Regions from separate parts of the Homo sapiens genome. Here region 2 is linked to region 1. Evidence: promoter capture Hi-C in human tissues and cell types (Jung and others, 2019). All regions are on one chromosome and are shown on one strand. Each heading gives the region's core, a stretch centred on a gene start or on the middle of the fragment in contact. The rest is flanking DNA. Distances are from core to core; before and after follow the strand shown.

Region 1 (3,504 bases), core at 205-2,704:
TCTGCCTCTCAGGTTCGAGCGATTCTCCTGCCTCAGCCTCCCAAGTAGCTGGGACTACAGGCATGCACCACCATGCCCGGCTAATTTTTGTATTTTTAGTAGAGACAGTGTCACCATGTTGGCCGGGATGGTTTCGAACTCCTGATCTCAGGTGATCCGCCCGCCTCAAACTCCCACAGTGCTGGGATTACAGGTGTGAGCCACCGCGCCCGGCCAGTCTGCATTATTCTGTATCTGCATTTGAGCCGCACCAAAATCTTAGGCAAGCCTTCCCTGTTTGAGTCCACGTCACGCAGGCAGCCTTCCATAGTCCTTGTTCCACCCATTCCCCATCCTTGTTTCTCCCACGTGCCCTAGCTCGTGGGGGCCCCAGACTCTGAGATCCCGGAGGTGTCTTGTTTGTGCCTGCTGTATAGCACAGGGCCCGGCACAGAGCGACTCGATGGGTATTTGGGGAATGAGTTAATGCTGGAGGAGCTAATTCCGGTGTCTTGGTGCGGAGATGAGCAGTGCGGACAGGCCCCCTCCTGCCCTTGGGCCCCAGCACCTTACCGCGCAGTGCCTGCATACCCGTCCACATTTTGTGACTGAGGCGGGAGCACGGGGCAGTCCCTTAGCTCTTAAGGAACGTGGATTTACCTGTTTCAAAGGTGATTTCGTCTGGCTCTAAATTGATTTCCGTATGTACCTGCACAGGTTAAAAATGCTAAATGCCTCCGGGCAAAAGAGATATGAACATGCTGCACTGCTCCTAGCTACGGGACTTGGGGCACGCTCTTCTCCAAGCCTCAGCTACTGGATCTGTGAAATGAGGTGATTTCCACCTCCCTGGATTCCTGGGAACGCGTCCTAGGGTCGTTGAAGGTAAAGTGCGGAGCCTGGATCCCCGCGCTAGCGGCCCCATCCGGAAACAAGTCTCCCTTTCTTCGTCTGCAAATTGGGAAGAGGGGGCCTAAGTTTTCTGAGCACGTGTAGAGGGTGGGAGTCACCTCAGTAACTGTGTACTCTGCACCGCGCCACAGTTCACAGCGCCCAGCCCTTGCGGATTTCATTTGCTAAAATCCTGGGAGGTCGCCTCCTTATTCCTATTTTCCAGTTGAGCTGCAGAGAGCTGGGGTTTGGTAAATTTGCAAGCCCCTTGTGGGAAGCGCTTGGCACCGCGCCAGGCGCATAGTAAGCGCTCAATGAAAACTATGCTTGTGTGGCCAGTGGCGAGGGAGCTGAGCGTCTCCTTGTCCCTAGCCGGCCCTGGAGGCCAGCGGCCCCGCCTTCCTCGCCCACCCGGCGCCCGCGCCTCAGCTGCCCCCCGCCTCCTTCAGCCCGCTGAGCCTGCGGGGCGGGGCCGGGGGCGGGGCCGGTGATGCTCGGTCCTACCAGCGCCGCCAGCGATCTGGGGGCGTGGCCTCCGGGCTCCGGGGAGCCTACAAGAGGCGGTACGCTGAGCCCCGGCACCCACTCGCATCCCAGGGCGTCTCCGGCTGCTCCTATTGAGCTGTCTGCTCGCTGTGCCCGCTGTGCCTGCTGTGCCCGCGCTGTCGCCGCTGCTACCGCGTCTGCTGGACGCGGGAGACGCCAGCGAGCTGGTGATTGGAGCCCTGCGGAGGTAAGTGTGATTTCCATGCTTCTCCCTTTTGCAAACTGTTACCCCCCCGAGAAGCTGGAATAACTAGGACAGATGCCACCTCGCAGGGCTGACTGTGTGCTGGCACCACACCGAGTGCTCTGCTTGCATAGCGGAACACAGCTTTGCGACATGCCCTTTTGCAGATGGAGAAACTGAGGCTCAGCGAGGACAACTCATTTGTCCAGGACCTCGCAGCCAGGACTCCAAGGACCCAGGATTCAACGCCGATCTGAGCGCAGAATCCTGCTCCTTAGAGGCTGTTTACTCTCTTGCCTTCCTCGTGCAGTTCACTAGCATTTGTTGCATTCCTGTGTTCGTAGTGGGTGTCAATAACTGGAAAGCTGATGGCATGGATATGGCAGGCATTAGAATGTGTCCTACTCATGTCTGGAGGACCAGGGTGATCTAGTGGCATGTGCATTCAGCTGCAGTTTAGAGGGCCACGCCCCTCTGTGATTTCATTTGCAAGGTAGCCTTCTTCCCACATTTCAGATGAAGATGCTGAGGGTCAGAGAGGTGAAGTAAGTTGTCCGGGCAGAGCCAGGGCTGGAACCCAGCTCTGTCTGTCTCCAGAGCTTCAAATGGATGTGTAGAGACTTGGGGCCATGTCAGGGTTCTGCAGTCTGGGGGAACACGTTTCTGGGTTTCTTTAGCCAGAGCGGGCACCTGCATAACTCCTGCGTGGGGAGAGTTACCCTGGAAGCGGAGGGCTCACTCTGGAGTGTGGGGGAGATCGGTCGTCCCACGTGGACAGAGCCAGGGCTAGTCCCTCATGTGCTGCAGACCCAGAGCCTCCCTTGCTAAGGCTGGGCTGGTGGACAAGCCAGGGAGGACTTCGCTGATGCCTGCTCATCGCAGTCCAACTTGAATTGGGCGTCTCTCAGCCAAAATGTGAGTTGCTGCCCTGGCTGAGAGAAGCATCCCGTGCAAATGCCTAGCTTGCCTTGCAACCGAGAGTGGGGTTGTGAGTTTCCCCTTTGGGCCTTTGGACCTCTTGCCCTGGTAGAATGGGGTGAGCCTGCTTTCCCCATCCAGGGTCTGATGTCTGACAGTGAGGAGAGCCTGCAGAACAGGACCGGGGCGTGGTCCTTTCCAGTAGACTGAGGCCATGAGTTGTGACTGTCGGCTGTCCCAGGGCTCCTTGGGTTGTATGCACCTGATTTTCTGCTTCTGCCCCTGATCTGGCTGTTCCCACTCAGGAGAAGGGGTGGGTGTGTGACTGTGTTGCCTGTGCGGCAGGCACGCGGTCTGTGCCACGCAGTTTACCTGTATTGTCATCGCTGCAACACCCCGGGGAGTAGGCCTCTTGATGCCCACTTCACAGCTGAGGAAACTGAGGCTCAGCAAGGTGAAGTGCTTGCCTAAGATCCCCCAGCTGGTATGGAATGCTGTCACCCCCAGGTGGGTCCTATCTGCACTCTTGACCCTGCTTTCTTTAAGACACTTCCCTGCCCACTGCCAACTCCACCCATGAACCTGACCTTCACACAGGTGATGTTTTGTCTTACAGGGGCTCCAGTTAAAACCACTGGACAATGTACCCAGGGAGGAGAAACCAAGAGGGTGATTTTGATTTTTTCAGAGTTTCTTAAGATGTGAGAGTAGGAATAGTAATAATGCCATTTGTAATAATACAAGCAGCTGACATTTACATGATGCTTAGTACAGACCAGACATGCCCAGGGTTTCCACGGATGAGCTCACTGCCTGCTCTATTAGCTGGGCACTTTTTACAAGGAGTTAGTTGAGGCTCAGAATTATTAAGGTGTGTGCCCAACATGACACAGCCAGGGCGGGGTAGAGCTGCCGTCCAGGCTGGGCCCTGCCCCAGATTCTGGGGGAAGGTGCCCATCTAATGACCAGCCACATGACTGTCCCAG
Region 2 (3,379 bases), core at 626-3,125, 38 kb before region 1:
AAGGCTAAATGCTCTTCAGTTGAGTGCCACTGGGGCGGCTGAGCGGTGCCTCCAGACGCCACCCTCAGTAGTGGGAAGGAAGCCTTCTGAGACGGAAGACATGGAGAGAGGGATGTCACGTGCAAGGGTGCCCGTGCCCCGGCTTCTGGCCCTGTGTGGATGATTGTGGTGTCCTGAGATCTACAGAGAAGGGGTTTTAACGTGGTCTGAGCCTTTCTCTCAAGTTCTTGCTCTTACCATCTGGTATTTCTGATTGTAGCCTGGTGCCATCTGGGGTTCAGAGCTTCCTAAACTTTCTGTACAAGTGTTGTCCGTCTAACCTACTTACCCTTTGTAATTCTATTGTGATTTGCTTGGCTGAATTATAACTCATATTGAGAGGTGAAGCCAGCTGGACTTCCTGGGTCAAGTGGGGACTTGGAGAACTTTTCTGTCCTCTAAGAGGATGGTAAAATGCACCAATCAGCACTTTGTAGCTAGGATTGTAAAACGCACCAACCAGCACTCTGTAGCTAGCAAGAGGTTTGTAAAATGCACCAATCGGTTCTTAAAACGCACCAATCAGCAGGAGTCTAAAAGCAGCCAATCACAGGGAGGACTGAAAAAAGAGCACTCTGATAGGACAAAAACAGAACATGGGAGGGGACAAATAAGGGAATAAAAGCTGGCCGCCCCAGCCAGCAGTGGCAACCCGTTTGGGTCCCCTTCCACACTGGAAGCTTTGTTCTTTTGCTCTTCACAATAAATCTTGCTGCTGCTCATAGAAAGATGCAAGCTAGTGCTAGCGAGACAGCCTGCAAAACCCCTGTGTTGTTTTGGGCTGTTAACCATAGTCTGAGTGGCTTAGACAACAAACATTTATTTCTCACAGTTCTAGAGGCTAGAAGTCCAAGAGCAGATGCCAGCAGACCTGTCTGGGGAAGGCCTGCTTCTTGGCCTGGAGACAGCCGCTTGCTCACTATGTCTTCACAGGGCAGAGTGAACCCTGGTCTGTTTCTCTTACAAGGACACTCATCCCACTGTGGGCCTCCACCTTTGTGATTTCATCTATACCTAAAAGGCCCCACTTCCTAGTATTCCGCCGGGGGTTCAGGCTTCAAAGATGAATACTGGGGGCGACACAAACGGAGCCCATAACCTCATGCCGCCTGACTCCTGAGGCTGTATTCGTGATGAACGTGTGGCTGCCCAAGTTTTGTTTTGCTCAGGCAGGATCAGCACACACCCAGCCACAGACAGGGAAGCCCAGAGCAGGGCAGAATATGGTCCCTCAAGTGAATAATTGGCCCAGGGATACAGAATTAGGTGATTCTAGCAAATCCAGACATTTTCTAGGGTGCCAGTGAATTTTGGGTCTGTCCCTGTTAGCTGTTCTTGAGATTTTGCACTCAACTTGCGATGGTTAATACGGAGTGTCAACTTGATTGGATTGAAGGATGCAAAGTATTGTTTCTGGGTGTGTCTGTGAGGGTGTTGCCAAAGGAGATTAACATTTGTGTCAGTGGGCTGGGAAAGGCAGACCCACCCTCAATCTGGGTGGGCACCATCTAATCAGCTGCCAGCGTGGCCGGAATAAAAGCAGGCAGGAGAATGTGGAAAGACTAGACTAGTCTTGTGGCCTCCATCTTTCTCCTGTGCTGGATGCTTCCTGCCCTTGAACATCGGACTCCAAGTTCTTCCGTTTTGGGACTTGGATTAGCTTCCTTGCTCCTCAGCCTGCAGACGGCCTACTGTGGGACCCCTTCTTGTAAGTCAATACTCCTTAATAAACTCCCCTTTATATATACATCTACCTATAGGTTCTGTCCCTCTAGAGAACCCTAACGCACAACGTTTCCATTTTATGTTGCAACGTTTAATGTTTTTGTAAGTTTCATAGTACGGTCTCCTAACTTTAGGTTATTTACTTCGGGAACTTTGCTCATTAACCTTGGTGCTGAGGCTACAGACTTAGTGATTTTCCTTCATTATCATTTAACATGCCTTTGTAGGTGGCATTTAAAGCAGTGAATGGTTACATTTTTAGTATGTTATAGGGAGATTTTCCTCGCATTTGTCAGTTGTTGACAACAAGACTTGGAAGTTCTCTTACAGGGAAGATGTCATGAAGTTTACCTGGTTGGTATGTTATTTGTCCACTAGCCAAGGAAGCGCAAGCCACTGTGTGTTTGAGGCAGGATGGAGAATGGAGGTCATTCTGGCCTCCACTGGTGTAACTATGGTTCAGCCACCCAAGTGGCTCACAGTGGCATTCTGCTTTCATTTCTCTCTCTCTCTCTTTTTTTTTTTTTTTTTTTTGAGATGGAGTTTTGCCCTCGTTGCCCAGGCTGGAGTGCAGCGGTGCGATCTCAGGTCACCGCAACCTCCACCACCCAGGTTCAAGCGATTGTTCTGCATGTGCCACCACACCCGGCTAATTTTGTATTTTTAGTAGAGACGAGGTTTCACCATGTTGGTCAAGCTTGTCTCGAACTCCTGACCTCAGGTGATCCAGCTGCCTCGGCCTCCCAACATGCTGGGATTACAGGCGTGAGGCACCGTGCCCAGCCCCTGCTTTCATTGCTTGATGTCATTGGTCATACCATCCTAGTCTAATGTGTGGGCAACGTGAGCAGGAACTTTGCAGTCAGCAAAGGCATCATCTTAGAATGTCTTTTATTTGGTGACGTTTCTGATTATTGCTGTCATAGACTGCTTATACTTGACCAGGCCAACTGGTTACAAAGTGACAAGCATAGTCCAAGTCAGTGGCTTTTGAACTATGGGAAATAACCCAATAAACCAGTGAGCTAGTATTGTACAGCCAACTCACGTTCATGAGTCAATGAGAATGAGCAAGTTGTAGCAGTGTGGACACAGCAGTCTCTTGGCTTCATTTCTCTTGGGAAGTGCTGAGTGCATCAAAAGAACTAAAAACAGCAAGAGACAGAAGACTCACAGTTTTTCTGGTACTTCTCTGGCTCAAGAAGGAAAAATATCTTGACTGAGCCTAGTGAAGACAGTATCTCTATACCAATTTCCTGAGGGTCAGTGGACTTAAAAGAGATTAGACCAAAATGTTAGTGTTTTTAAAATCCGTGTCTAGCAAGGCCAAGTGGTAATAGCCAACTCTACACGAAGTGTTTTGTGTTTCCTTTATTGTTTTTTGTTTGTTCGTTTGTTTGTTTGTTTTCTGAGACAGTCTTGCTCTTGTTGTCCAGGCTGGAATGCAATGGCATAATCTCAACTCATTGCAACCTTCACCTCCTGGGTTCAAGTGACTCTCCTACCTCAGCCTCTCGAGTAGCTGGGATTATAGGCACCTGCCACCACACCAGATAATTTTTGTATTTTTGGTAGAGACGGGGTTTCGCCATGTTGGCCAGACTGGTCTTGAACT

What was found. The method cuts DNA at HindIII sites, captures the fragments that hold promoters and counts their contacts. A contact is called where the count stands out against the background at its distance.
Region 2: a fragment that was not itself captured here is called in contact with the fragment with the promoter of CRISPLD2 in region 1 in 7 of the 25 tissues and cell types used here (IMR-90 fibroblasts, bladder, mesenchymal stem cells and 4 more).

Annotation. Positions count from the first base shown.
Region 1 is chr16:84,818,531-84,822,034 of GRCh38, forward strand. CRISPLD2 (cysteine rich secretory protein LCCL domain containing 2) reads left to right here and starts at 1,455. Exons shown (of 15, transcript NM_031476.4): 1 at 1,455-1,603. RefSeq lists a silencer at 1,228-1,417. The HindIII fragment of the contact is 19,202 bases long and covers 1-3,504 here.
Region 2 is chr16:84,780,220-84,783,598 of GRCh38, forward strand. It overlaps a transcript of LOC105371378 not described here. Among named protein-coding and RNA genes, the nearest start is that of CRISPLD2, 38 kb to the right of the region's middle. The HindIII fragment of the contact is 6,097 bases long and covers 1-3,379 here.